Linked DNA regions of Homo sapiens: regions 1 and 2 are each linked to region 3. The links are contacts of gene promoters, found by promoter capture Hi-C in human tissues and cell types (Jung and others, 2019). All regions are on one chromosome and are shown on one strand. Each heading gives the region's core, a stretch centred on a gene start or on the middle of the fragment in contact. The rest is flanking DNA. Distances are from core to core; before and after follow the strand shown. Region 1 holds the start of BPHL (biphenyl hydrolase like). Region 2 overlaps PXDC1 (PX domain containing 1). Region 3 holds the start of SLC22A23 (solute carrier family 22 member 23).

Region 1 (4,667 bases), core at 1,842-4,341, 340 kb after region 3:
AAAGACAGAATTGGGTAGTAATAAGGTCTGACTAAACTATAAGCTCCTTATCTACAGAAATATTATTAAAGGGGCATCAATGAAGCCACCAAGCAATGGCAATACTGACTCTGCCATTTACTTATTATGATTACTGCCCTATTCCTCTGAGAAATTCATTTCTACAGTTAAGATAGCTTAGGATCGGCCAGGTGTGGTGGCTCACACCTGTAATCCCGATACTTTGGGCGGCCCAGGTGGGTGGATCACGAGGTCAGGATCACGAGGTCAGGAGATCAAGACCATCCTGCCCAACATGGTGGAACGCCATCTCTACTAAAATACACACAAAAAAATTAGCCCGGCATGGTGGTGCACACCTGTAATCCCAGCTACTCAGAAGGCTGAGGCAGGGGAATCGCTGGAACCTGGGAGGTGAAGATTACAGTGAGCCGAGATCGTGCCACTGCACTCCAGCCTGGTGACAGAGAGAGACTCCGTCTCAAAAAAAAAAAAAAAAAAAAAAAAAAAGAAACTGCTATTATCATATTGTATGTTCAGCTATTTCTTTTGTGTATGTTTTGTGAAGTAGCCATTATCTACAATAAAGTATTTGCTACCTTCAGGGCTTGAAATTTGCATGAATCTTGATGAATTATTTTTACATCTCTTATATATTGTACTATTATATAAATATTCCCATTGTGCCTACTAATTACTTCATGTTTATTATATCCCCAGGCTTTTACATTTATTGTTTCAAATCCTCACAAAAACGCTGCAAGGCAGGAGGCTCAGAGAGGTTGAACAATCTGCCCACACTCACAGAGCTAGGAAGTGGCCACGGGGCCATTAGAACTCCAGAGGCCATGATTCCTCTCTAACCTCATGGCTGAACAGAGTCCTAAGAGGGCTCAGGCACCGGGGCCACACTCTGACTGCCAGATACAGCGTGGTGGCAAGCGTCAGCAGAAGGACAGTCTCTGATTCTCTGGCAGGGCATCCCAAGGTTGAACTTGGAAAATATTTTTTAGGAAGATTGTTAGGTTATGTGAATTATTAATATTTATAACTGCACATAATATCCAATTTCAGGTAGAAAAGGCTTTTCTTGACCTGACCCAGGAATAAATCACCTTACGGATTTTGAAATAAGGGTCAAAGTTCCAAACAGCAGACTTACAAACAAGTTTTTGGAACAAAAGTCAGTTGTAGGTTGGGCACTGGCTATTCTGAAGCAAAGTTTTTACACGAATCCTTTTACCTACTGACACTGAGCTACAGCTGCATTTCAGGATTAACTAATACCACTGCTTGTTTTCCCAGATTATATGTCATATCAACTTGCAGCTGCATTTATAAAACGGCCGTACAAAATCCAGAAAAACCTGTTTCTTCAGAGATATTTTAGGAAGAATGATCTGCAATGCAACTAGATGGATGGGGCCTTCCTCAACCATTAAATAACCTATCAGAACTATACTGGTAGGCCGAGAGCGGTGGCTCACGCCTGTAATCCCAGCACTTTGGGAGGCTGAGGCAGGTGGATCATTTGAGGTCAAGAGTTCGAGATCAGCTTGGCCAACATGGTGAAACCCCATCTCTACTAAAAACACAAAAATTAGCCGGGCATGGTGGCAGGTACCTGTAATCCCAGCTACTCGGGAGGCTGAGGCCACGAGAATCGCTTAAACCTGGGAGGCAGAGGTTGCAGTGAGCGAGATCACAACACTGCACTCCAGCATGGGCAAAAGAGCGAGAGTCAGTCTCAAAAAAAAAAAGAACTATATTGGTACAATCACAGTAACTTATTTCGATGCCTTTCTGCAGACAGGAAACTGGAAAAAATAATCATTTTCACTGTTAATTTATACAGCTGTAGCCATTAACATGTTTTTCCATCTATCAAAATAGCCCTGACCATCTTATAATAATTCTAAAATTAAAGGAGCTAGTCAATTGCAATATGAAATTTTAAAAGCTGGTCAGATTTGCCCTCTTTTCTCCTTCTAAATCAAGTTTTCAAACTAAAAGTTTCTATGTTGGATCAAGTACAGTTCTAAACGCTGTGTACCTATCTAGTACTGACTTTATGAAAGTAGCCCATCAACAGTCAACTGCGCACATGCACTGTGTACGTTCGTTGTATACGTGTGTTTGCATGTGTGTAGGGATGTATGTAGAGAATAAAGTAAAACAAGCTTCATGCCGCTCTATCCACATTTCTGCCCAGTATCTCTTGGGACCAAGAGTATCCATTTTCAAGACAGAAGGTCAGAAATTAATCCAGTTTTTTTGTTATTGTTTTACCTGAAATGGGGGGACAGGTGGGAGGACAAAAGAGAATAAAGCAGATTCCTGGGCATCTCCACACATGTAGATCAGATCCTCTGGGAGTGAGGCCCAGGATTCTGAATTTTCAGTTCCCAACGTGATTCTTTTGCACATTAAGGTACGAGATCAGCAAGCAAAGAGAAGACTTAGGGCTCTCGGGACCCGTGATTAAAGCCTTAGCGGTACTCAGGCTCAGGCTGATTTCTGACATAAGAGAAAGAAGAGATTATTGTCCTTATGCCCTTAGTGTGGACTCTGGACAGAGCAATGGACTAATGAGGGCGTTGGGATTCTAGTCCGTGCTCCGTCACGGGTGAGTCCATACTACAGGCAAATGTATCTCCCTGGGTCTCTCTGGTCTGCACACTGAAGGGGCTGCACTCTATAGCCCAAGCCTCCACGGCTCCAGACTCCTTGAACTGAGGCTGACCGAGGCGCATGCACGATCGAGGGGCTCGAGCACCAAGCGCGGCTGGCCCCCAGGATCGGGGTCTCGCGGCACAAAGGGCGACAGGGCAGCCAGGCCGCGCCCACGCCCCGTGCCCGCGCGCCGGGAACTCCTGCTGTCGGCACGCGCCCCTCCCGCCGCCCCTCGAGCGCGCCGATGCTGGGGATCCCCGGGGCGAGGTGGCCGCCATTACCCGAACGCGGCCGCGGGTCCGGCCCGTGGGACGTGGATCCCGGGCTTCAGCGCTGAGAGAAGCAGCCGCAGGCGCAACACGCCCCGGCCGCCCAGCACAGCCACCATGGTCACAGGTCGCGTAGCTGCCGGGAGTGCGCATGCGCTAAGACCAAGCGCGGTACCCGGCCCACTCTGCCCCGAAGCCACGCCCTCTGCTCCGCCCACCTCGCCTCTCCATCCTGCTCCGCCCTCTGCCCGCCCCGCCCCGAAGCCACGCCCTGCCGGGTGCTTTCCCATGGGCGACCGAAACTCGGCTCGTGGTTTCGCAGTCCTGGAACCGCCGGCACCCGCGTAGACCGTCCCCTCTCGGTGCTGGCTCTGGCTCCCGGGATGAGTGTCCCCGTCGGCGCTGCCCCGCCCTCGCTCGTCGCCTCAGCGACCATGGCCTTTCCAGGAGGCGAGGCCGCCAGCCATAGCGCCCTCGCTGCGTCGGCGTCCAGGCGGGACTCCGGAGTGGGCGGGGCTCCGGCTCTAGGCAGGCTGCTATGTTGGATCAAGTAAAGTTCTAAACGCTGTGCACCTATTTAGTACTGACTAGTACTAGGAAGTGTATTTGCTTTTCGGAGATGATGGGATCTAAATTTTGTTTATACCACTTCACGCCCATTAGGATGGCTACTAGCAAAACCCCCAGAAATTAGTGTTGGTGAAGATGTAGAGAAATTGAAGCCCTTGTATATTGCTGTTGGGAATGTAAAATGGTGCAGCCATGTGATGAACAATACTGCGGTTCCTCAACAAATCAGTTATATGATCCAGCATTTTCTTTTCTGGGTATATAACCCAAAAGAATTTAAAACAGGGTGTACAAGAAGAAATGTTTTTACACTCACGTTGACAGCGGCACTATTCACAATAGCCAAAAGGGTGGAGGCAATTTAAGTGTCCAAAAACAGATACATGGATAAGCAAAATGTTGTCTGTGCATGCAAGGGAACATTTTTTAGCCTGAACAAAGAACGAAATTCTGACACTTGCTACTACATGGATGAACCTGGAGGACACTATGCTGAGGGAGGTAAGCCAGTCAAAAAAAGACAAATACTGTGTGATTCCACTTATATAATAAGGTACCTAGAGGAGTCAAACTTATAGGGACAGAAAATAGAATGGGGGTTGTTGAGGGCTGGTGGAAGGGGGAATGGAAAGTTGGTGTTTCATGGGGACAGAGTTTCAGTTTGGAGAGATGAAAAAGTCCTGGGGATGGATTTTGGTGATGCCTGCATTACATTGTGAGTGTACTTACTGCCACTGAACTACACACCTAAAAGTGGTTTAAGTGGTAAGTTTTATGTATGTTTTACCACAATTAATTTTTTTTCTTTTGGCTGTATAATTGCAGCTTTATAAAGGTTATAGACATTATCTAATTGAAAGCTCAGTGGAGAAAAAAAACAACTATTGCTTTTTAAGTCAATCGTTCTGCCTTAATTGGAAATAACTGGCAGATTTGTGGCTACTGTTGTAGCCTTGGCTTGAATAATTGGAGACAACAGCTTCTTTGCATATTGCATTTCTTCTCCTCCAAGAGACCTTTTTGGTGTAACAGTCAGTCCTGTGAGCACAGTGCTTGTAGGTGTTACACTCATAGAAATTTCTGTCACCTGCAGTGTCCTCACTGGCCCATTGGACTTTCTTGAGTAGTAAAGGCAGTTTTGGCCTAAATACAGAC
Region 2 (4,553 bases), core at 655-3,154, 260 kb before region 3:
TTCCTGTGGGGCTCGCTCTCACTGCTACTGCTTCCTGGGAGGTGCATCCCTCTTGGTGAAGTGGCCTAGTGCCCCCCAGCCACCCTGACTCCCCACCATTCCCTCCCACGGCAAACGCACAAAACGTCTTGAGGGAGATTTTGACAAGTCACCCATTCCAGGTGCCACAGGCAGGGGATGTTTAGTAATCCAGGATTTCTCTGAGAACTGGGATATGTGGCCTTTTTTTTTTTCTTTTTATCTTTTATCTGGAAACTGGGTTTGGGTCAACCCCAGGAGTATTTGCAGAAGGCCCAGCACAGTGGGGGGTATTGGCTGCAGGGCAGGGAAGGCATTGCCGACTAGATAACCGTGTGAGCTTGGACTGAGCGTTGGTGGTTCTTCCCAAAGGAAAGGAATTTCTTCCCGGCCTGCCAGGTCTCTGGGCCTTCAGCGCGGGTCCTGGTGCTGCGGCCACACCACCCTGGGGTGCTCATTGACAGAGCTGCCATAATGAACTTGAAAGGACGGGAATCACGAGGGAAGCTGGGGCTCCCCTGCCCACAGGAGAGGATCCCCGTTCTTCAAGCTTCTCTGCTCAGTGTCTACTAACGACCGACATTTGCTAATGTAAATAATAGTAAATTATTGAGAATTCTAATTCTTTTACACAGTCTGTTTTTAATCTATTTTAATTAAATAAAATCTATGACTCTACTTTGATCTGTCCAGGATGTTTGTGTATAAAGGCGTGGTTCTTTCTGTCCCCTGCCTTGGGACAGGGTGGAAACTAAAACTGACTCCTGGGGCCTGGTCCCTCCCCCTCTTCCTGTCACATTCCGTGAGTGACAAAGTGTGTTATGTTCTTACCCTAGGGAAGTGGTCTGCCCAGATTGAAAAATGGACACACTGCTTGTTTTATTTTGGAGGGAGACGGGGGTTGACTTAGGCTTTTTTCTTTTCCTCCATTTTTCTTTTTGGCAGCCACAGGAATTCTCTTTGATGACCCAGCTGCAAAGCACATGGACTTTCCTTTGGTTTTGCATTTCCCTCTGCCTTCCAGCTGTGTTGTTTAAAGCATCTCAATTTCAAATAGGCTAGTAGGTGGCTCACTCCGGGGTTGACCGGTTGCCTTTCTTTTCTTGACACATCAAATTCAGTTCTGTGCAAGGATGAGGCTTCCTGCTTAGTAGCTAAGATTAGAAGTGATCAGCATGTTCAATTAATGCCCATCTGACTTTCAAGGATTGATTCACGGATTCGTCTCATCCGTTTCACAGAGGTGCTTCTCCCCAGCCATTCGGTCACTGTGATGCAGCTTCCTTGGCCACCTCCTTGCTCAGGCTGTGTTCCTCTGTCAAGACTCAAATTTGGCTCCCCAACCTCATCCCCTGCTCAGCCTTCACTGAAGAAGTTTTACTGTTACTAGTCCGTGCGCAATGAGGTCTTGCCAGTAGGGGTGAGATGTTTGGACATCTGTTGTCCTATTAAGCACATCAGAGCATTCTCTGGCTTCCTTTTTTTTTTTTCTGGAAAAACATAGGTCTCATAAGTTCATTTTTTATATTCCCACACTTGAAAGAGCCATAAGTACAAATAAATGTTTCTTTAGGTGCAAAGATATATGCTTACTGGCACTCAGCATCACTGTTGGAAGCAGTATGGAGTGGTGGCAGCTATGGCAAACAGGAGCACTCAGACGCTGCATCAAGGGAGCAGCTACCACTGCTCAGTTTAGCTGGTTGTTTTGCCTGCAAGTATGGGCCCAGTATGGCCAGATCTCCTAGTTTTTCAATAAAAGCTAGAAATCTGACTCTTCTTTGTGAAATATCCCAATTTTGAGGTGTTGACAATAAATAAATAAAAATAAACAAAAATATATTAGAAACTTGACCAAGTGAAAGAATTGTGAATTGTCAGCCTCTAAACTGTCATTTCAGAAAATCGATACCAGAGCAGTTGAGGTTCATGTGTGAATTTTCACTCTTGCCCGCACATTCCTCCAGGTGAGAGGTGACAGCGTGCTGGCAGTCCTCACAGCCCTCGCTCGCTCTCGGCGCCTCCTCTGCCTGGGCTCCCACTTTGGCGGCACTTGAGGAGCCCTTCGGCCCGCCGCTGCACTGTGGGAGCCCCTTTCTGGGCTGGCCAAGGCTGGAGCCCACTCCCTCAGCTTGCAGGGAGGTGTGGAGGGAGAGGCACGAGCGGGAACCAGGGCTGCGTGTGGCGCTTGCTGGCCAGCTGGAGTTCCGGGTGGGCCTGGGCTTGGCGGGCCCCGCACTGGGAGCAGCCGGCCAGCCCTGCTGGCCCCGGGCAATGAGGGACTTAGCACCCGGGCTAGTGGCTGCGGAGGGTGTACTGGGTCCCCCACTAGTACCAGCCCATCGGTGCTGTGCTCGATTTCTCACCGAGCCTTAGCAGCCTTCCCGCAGGGCAGGGCTCGGGACCTGCAGCCCGCCATGCCTGAGCCTCCCACCCACTCCATGGGCTCCTGTGCCGCCCGAGCCTCCCCGACGAGCACCACCCCCTGCTCCACGGCGCCCAGTCCCATCGACCACCCAAGGGCTGAGGAATGTGAGCACACGCGCAGGACTGGCAAGCAGCTCCACCTGCAGCCCCAGTGTGGGATCCACTAGGTGAAGCCAGCTGGGCTCCTGAGTCTGGTGGGGATGTGGAGAGTCTTTATATCTAGCTCAGGGATTGTAAACACACCAATCAGCACCCTGTGTCTAGCTCAAGGTTTGTGAGTGCACCAATCGACACTCTGTATCTAGCTGCTCTGGTGGGGCCTTGGAGAACCTTTATGTCTAGCTCAGGGATTGTAAATACACCAATCAGCACCCTGTGTTTAGCTCAAGGTTTGTGAGTGCACCAATCAACACTCTGTATCTAGCTGCTCTGGTGGGGACATGAAGAACCTTTATGTCTAGCTCAGGGATTGTAAATACACCAATCAGCACTCTGTATCTAGCTCAAGGTTTGTAAACACACCAATCAGCACCCTGTGTTTAGCTCAAGGTTTGTGAATGCACCAATTAACACTCTATATCTAGCTGCTCTGGTGGGGCCTTGGAGAACTTGTGTGGTGAAACTCTGTGTCTAACTAATCTGATGGGGACATGGAGAACCTTTGTATCTAGCTCAGGGATTGTAAACGCACCAATCAGCGCCCTGACAAAACAGACCACTTGGCTCTACCAATCAGCAGGATGTGGGTGGGGCCAGATAAGAGAATAAAAGCAGGCTGCCCGAGCCAGCATTGACAACTCGCGGGGATTGTTTTCCACACCGTGGAAGCTTTGTTCTTTTCGTTTTTTGCAATAAATCTTGTTGCTGCTCGCTTTTTGGGTCCACATTGCTTTTATGAGCTGTACCACTCACCGTGAAGATCTGCAGCTTCACTTCAGAGCCTAGCGAGACCACAAGCTCACTGAGAGGAACAAACAACTCCAGACGCGCTGTCTTAAGAGCTATAACACTCACCGCGAAGGTGTGCAGTTTCACTCCTGAGCTAGTGAGACTACGAAGCCACTGGAACGAAGAAACTCCAACCACGTTTGAACATCAGAAGGGGCAGACTCCAGACGCTTCATCTTAAGAGCTGTAACACTCACTGTGAAGGTCTGCAGCTTCACTCCTGAGCCAGCGAGACCACGAACCGATCTGAACATCAGAAGGGACAGACTCCAGATGCCCCACCTTAAGAGCTGTAATACTCACTGCAAGGGTCTGCAGCTTCATTCTTGAAGTCAGACCAAGAACCCAGCAATTCCCAACACACAGGGACCAGCTTCTTTCCTAACTCACTTAGGCTCTTCGTGCTGCTCTGGCAACTAACACCCTTGGCTGCAGGGGCTTGGACACTACCCTTAGTCACTGACAATTGTGTGAAGGCTGCTGTCGTTAACTTCACTTGATCACCTTAGGCTCCTGTGAAGTGGTGAGCAATTCAAACAAATTCCTGTCGTCAAATCATGTAAGTCACCTAAGTTTTCCTATTTAAAAAGCGCTTTCAGCATGCACTATTTATGGGCTGAGGAATCATTCCTTCTTTGTTTTGTTACAAATGCTCATTTTCATGTATGAGGCCTTCCTAAAGTGAAAAATGCACAGTGTAAACATTGCCTAGTCCCGCCTGTGGTGATTCCTGCAGAATTGACACTCCCCAGCACTTCCCTTGTGGGGAGGCACACGAGCATAAGCTACCTGGTAATGGAGCTGACTGTGGGCTCCTTCATAAGCATACAGTTCTCGTGGCTGTGACATTTATTAATAGAAGTATACCTGGGGGTGTTGGCAGCCAAACTGCCCTGAGCAATGTGTCCTAACCTTCACTAGTTTCTCCTGTTGGGGATAGAACATATTCTTGGGTTTCATTTTAGAAGCATTCTGTCAAATTACAAGCCTTTTTATTGCAACTAAAATTTCTGTCCTGTGTTCTCTGTGCCTTCTGCAGACCAATATTCTCCTCTAGGCCCAAGGACTTAAAATGCAGACTGTATTATTTTTCAGCATGTCAAGGCCAACAGATGAGGAGGTGGCTGCCATTGAAAAGATAGTTTGCTATACAGGCAGAT
Region 3 (4,817 bases), core at 588-3,087:
ACAAATGGGTCCTTGTGACTGTGGGGGAAGGGAGGCAGAGCCAGACACAAAGTGGACCTCTTCTGGAAAATCAGCCACTGAAAGGAAAATAAATAAAATCCGTAAAGTTATATTTCAATTCAAAAAGAAATGTGGATTGTATGTAATGGCAAGAGGAGCACTGGTAATAATACATGTCTAACATTCATTGCGCACTTACTCTGTTCCAGGCATGGAGGTCAGAACTTTGCATGTATTAGCTCTTCAAATGAGGGGAGGAGAGGGAAGGAAAAGAAAAGTTAAGCTAATAAATAATGTGAAGTTGAAAAATTACCACGTACACAACGTGCACTATCGTGTCCCCCCCCGCCCCAAGCCCCCAGCTCTTTATATATGTGGTTTCCAGACCCATTTCTCAGCGGTCTGGTGTCTTTTGCAGCCCTTAGGGCCCCTTCCGCCCATTGTTATCTAATCACCCCTTCTCGGCCACGCAGGAAGGTCCACAACCTCCCCTGTCCCCCAAGACCCGCCCCCCGGCAGCCTTCAGAAATAGTTCTCTGGTACGTATGTGCCAGCATTTTATGCAGTAAACACATGTTGCCCTTAACACTGAACTGCAGGTTAAAAATGTATTCCACTAAATTGTGCAGCGGTTAGCTGAGCAAATAATGAAAATGCAAAAGAATACATTCAGTATATGGAGCTTAGAATATATCCTTTTGGAAAGCTAAACATTTTTTTTTTTTTTGCCCCAAATAAGACTAGAAATGGATTGCTCCATTTAAGACTTCCATTAATAAACTTCTCAGAATATGAAATGCCTCCAAAATGTGGGGACGCTGGGTTGAAAGGTGCCGGATAATTCTCTTTGGTGCGTGCGCTGGGTGCAGGAGGAAATATGCTAATGTAGCCGTTTGCCGCAGGGCTGGTGTTATTTATACAGCGCTGGCTGGGCAAGGTTGGCGCTGGAGCAGGAGAGGAGGGAGAGGTTTGTCTTCTTGTGTGAGAGTATAGATGTGTGCGCCTGTGCACACGGCGTTCCAAACGTGAATACAAGATCTTAGGGAGGGGGTGGGGAATGCCATCACGTTTATACTGTGTGTATTATAACTTGTGTTGGAGATATATCCCAGCATCGTGCTTACATCGCATGCACTTAGGAGTGGGGGAAGAAATGGCGATTTGGGAGTGGGTGCGGCGGGTCGCAGGTGGCCAGACACTGCGGGGGACTGGCGACCTGAAATTGGCAAAGGCGCCTCCTTGACCCTGCTCCACGGACACAAAAATCAACCTTATTCGCTCCTGGAAAAAGCGCAGAGGGTTGTTCCCGAAGGCTGAAGACCCTCGGGCTTGGGACTGGGAGCGGGGCGCGGGCAGCGGGACCGCCGGGCACCTCTGAAGAGACAGAGGTCACGGAGACCTGGCGCGCGCGGAGTGGGTGGGGGGCCCGCGCGGCTGCGGGAGCCCAGCCTCAGAGAAGACCCGGCCCACACGTTCTCAGCGCACGCCGACTTTGCCGGGACCCGTCGCCGGCCGGCGACCCCTGCTACGCGCGTCTCCTCCTCCCCCGCCCCGCCCGGCGCGAAACGGGCAACGGGCAGGGGATCCTCCAGCCAGGCGGGCCCGGGGTGTCCCGTTTCCCCCGCCCCCCTCCCGTGGATCCCGGGCGGCGGCGGCCGCGCGTCCGGGCTGGAGGGGGCGCTCGCGAGCAGGAGCCGAGCGCAGCAGGTGCCGCGGTTACCTCCACCTCGGCGGGGGGAGAGGGGGCGGGCCGGGGGGCAGGGAGGAGGGGGAGGAGGAGGAGGAGGAGGAGGAGTGGGGCCGGCTCCAGGAGCTGGAGAGCGCGGCCGGCTCGGCAGGCTGGGTCCAGAGCTCGCGGCTTCCGGGAGGCGCCCGAAGTCGGAGAAATACAGCGCGGCCACCCCGGGAGCAGCAGCCTTTGCCCGCACCGCCGCCCGCAGGGCCCTGAACCGCCGGCAAGGGCGCGGGCCGGGCGCGGCGCCGGCTCCTCCTCCTGCCGCGTCCGGCGCGGAGCAGCGGAGAGCGGCGGGCTCGGCAGCCGGCGCCCGGGCCGCGGAACTGATGAGCCGCGGCGGCTGAGGGCCCGGCCGGCCTCTGCCCGCCTCTGCCCGGCGCCCGAGCGGGGCCGCAGCGCCCGGGGCGCGGGGTCCGGCGGGTGACATGGGGGCGGCCTGACGCACCCGGAGCCGCCGAGCGCTCTCTCTCGAGCCGCGGGCCCTCCTCGGCGGCAGCGGCTGCAGGCGCCTGGCCCGGCGCGCTGTGCCCGGGGCGCCCGCGGAGCCTCCGCCGCGCTCTATGCGCCTCTGCGGGAGCCGCGGGCCCGGGCCATGGCCATAGACCGGCGGCGCGAGGCGGCGGGCGGCGGGCCTGGGCGGCAGCCGGCCCCGGCCGAGGAGAACGGCTCCCTGCCGCCCGGGGACGCGGCGGCCTCGGCGCCCCTCGGGGGACGCGCGGGCCCCGGCGGCGGCGCGGAGATCCAGCCGCTGCCCCCACTGCATCCTGGAGGCGGCCCGCACCCGAGCTGCTGCTCCGCGGCTGCGGCCCCGAGCCTCTTGTTGCTGGACTATGACGGGTCGGTGCTGCCCTTCCTCGGGGGCCTGGGCGGGGGCTATCAGAAGACCCTCGTGCTGCTCACCTGGATCCCGGCGCTGTTCATCGGCTTCAGCCAGTTCTCGGACTCGTTCCTCCTGGACCAGCCCAACTTCTGGTGCCGCGGGGCCGGCAAAGGCACCGAGCTGGCAGGGGTCACCACCACAGGCCGGGGCGGGGACATGGGCAACTGGACCAGCCTCCCCACCACCCCCTTCGCCACTGCCCCCTGGGAGGCTGCGGGCAACCGGAGCAACAGCAGCGGCGCGGACGGAGGCGACACACCACCCCTGCCATCCCCTCCGGACAAGGGGGACAACGCCTCCAACTGTGACTGCCGCGCATGGGACTACGGCATCCGCGCCGGCCTCGTCCAGAACGTGGTCAGCAAGGTAAGGGCCGCAGCCGCCCAGTCCCTCCAACCCTCTCCCTGCAGACCGAGGTCCAAGCCCGAGCCAGCGGGAGAACCGAAGTCCCCAAAGTGGTGGTGCTAGAGTGTGTGTAGGGCATTCCGCATTGGCTTAATCTCCTTCCGTCCCCCAAACCACATGCCTTTACTTGGGTGTAAAGGGAGCACCATAGCCTTTACTAGTTTGCACCCAAACTCCTGTCCCAGTACGCGGATGGAAAGCGCGCCCTTCCCCCACCCTCGGGGCGAGGCAGCTGACCTGTCACCAGCCCCCTCTGGAGGAGTCGGACTGGCGTCGTTCAAGGTCTGCTGGGGGAGTCGGGACCACAGCCCTGTTCTGCCCGGCTAGTTGTCCCTGGGTCTCCCACAAAGCAATAGTCTTCCATCTCGCACTTGATTTTGACACAGGTAAAGCCTACTAAAGAACTGGAGAGCCAGAGAAGCAAAGACTCCTGCAAATCCCCAACCCGCAGCCGATGCTTAGTCCTCCCCAAAGATATCTGACTTTAGGCTTTGCTACCCCAGTGTCTCCTCCCATGTTTTCTCAGCACTTCAGTAAACATCACTACAGTATAGGAAGGACGCGGAGAATATGTCATTTGGGTGTTCCCCGGCCGTCACCGCTCTTACACAGCAGCTGCTTTGGGCTGAGGCACTGAGAACGGGGGTGTGCTTTAGCTGAAACATGCACCTTGTCCTCTGAGTCCTGTAGCTAAAGCTCCCTTGCAGAGGTATTGCGTGGTGTGAAATGTAGCAGAAGGGAGTTGTGAGACAAGTGTGAAGGCCTAAACACAGAGTGGGCAATGGTGGACACTCAATGCCCCTAGACAGCTGTAATTTTATTCTTAACATATAAGAGATATCAAGACATTTGTAGTTTTGCTCCTTGTGTCTAAACTAATTAATTCACATTTTAAAGTAAATACAGACTCTCCTCCACCCCACCCGCTACCCATTCTGGGCTGTTCTGGCAGAGTTTTAAATGCTTTGTCGAAATGTATGAAATTGGACAGTTTTAAATAGTCAATGTGCATGTAACCTCCTCCCCCCGTGTGCATTGGTTAACAGTTGTAGCTCATGGATGTGTAAGATAAACTCTTACATCATCATAATCATTGTTTTAATCTTGTACCAACCTGGCCAGAAATGCTCTGTCCTGTGGGAACTGTCTGACTGAGCTGCCCCTGCTGCCCTGCAAGGTAATGGGGAAGGTCCTTCTAGCTGGGTTCACCTTGATCCCACCCACCTCCTACCCCCTGCTTTCTAAAGGTGTTTCTGTGACTGTTTTCCCTTCACGGAGGGCAATATTTCTTTGTTGGTTTAGCAGCAAAGAAAAATTAAGAACAATGACTATTTAAATCACTGTGTATGTCTGACAGACTGAGGATTTGGCAACATTGTTAAGTATTTCAAGTGTCTTTCTAGAGCAGAGGGAGAATAATGGATCAAAGTGAGTATGTGTGAAGAGCGCTGTGTCCTGGGGTCAAAGTAGAGGTGAACTTGAAAGTGATGAGATGGGATAGAGTGCCATTACCTTGGCAGTGAGGACCCAGGAAACAGCTATTCACACTCAGCCATGCACGGTGGGAGGAGAGAACAAAAATAGTTCTTAAAAGCAGACTATGGAGGCATATTGGAGAGCTGGGCAGTTTTTCTAAATTAGCATTCGAGAGGGTCACAGACAGCCCTCATGTGTGTGGCATGTTTTGGGTGATGCTTGATGACACGTTGCAGTTACTGGGCCAGACTGAGAGGGGAAACCTGGGAACAATAATTAGACACACATTTTCTTATACAGTAAAGCCTAGAAAGGACATAT

The links. Contacts are between HindIII fragments. The study calls those that stand out against the background at their distance.
Region 1: the fragment with the promoter of BPHL here is called in contact with the fragment with the promoter of SLC22A23 in region 3 in 1 of the 25 tissues and cell types used here (thymus).
Region 2: a fragment that was not itself captured here is called in contact with the fragment with the promoter of SLC22A23 in region 3 in 1 of the 25 tissues and cell types used here (small bowel).

Annotation. Positions count from the first base shown.
Region 1 is chr6:3,117,135-3,121,801 of GRCh38, reverse strand. BPHL (biphenyl hydrolase like) reads right to left here and starts at 3,091. Exons shown (of 7, transcript NM_004332.4): 1 at 2,955-3,091. The coding sequence starts at 3,061. It overlaps LOC107986556 (a long non-coding RNA gene), which reads left to right and starts at 3,155. Exons shown (of 4, transcript XR_001743928.3): 1 at 3,155-4,013. RefSeq lists a silencer at 2,794-3,183 and an enhancer at 3,222-3,857. The HindIII fragment of the contact is 13,933 bases long and covers 1-4,667 here.
Region 2 is chr6:3,718,762-3,723,314 of GRCh38, reverse strand. PXDC1 (PX domain containing 1) reads left to right here. Exons shown (of 5, transcript NM_183373.4): 5 at 1-696. It overlaps LOC100507336 (a long non-coding RNA gene), which reads left to right and starts at 3,238. Exons shown (of 4, transcript NR_187650.1): 1 at 3,238-3,952. The HindIII fragment of the contact is 4,661 bases long and covers 1-4,234 here.
Region 3 is chr6:3,454,070-3,458,886 of GRCh38, reverse strand. SLC22A23 (solute carrier family 22 member 23) reads left to right here and starts at 1,837. Exons shown (of 10, transcript NM_015482.2): 1 at 1,837-2,981. The coding sequence starts at 2,328. It overlaps LOC643327 (a long non-coding RNA gene), which reads right to left and starts at 3,184. Exons shown (of 2, transcript NR_147844.1): 1 at 2,636-3,184. RefSeq lists silencers at 1,560-1,779, 1,840-2,069. The HindIII fragment of the contact is 13,877 bases long and covers 1-4,817 here.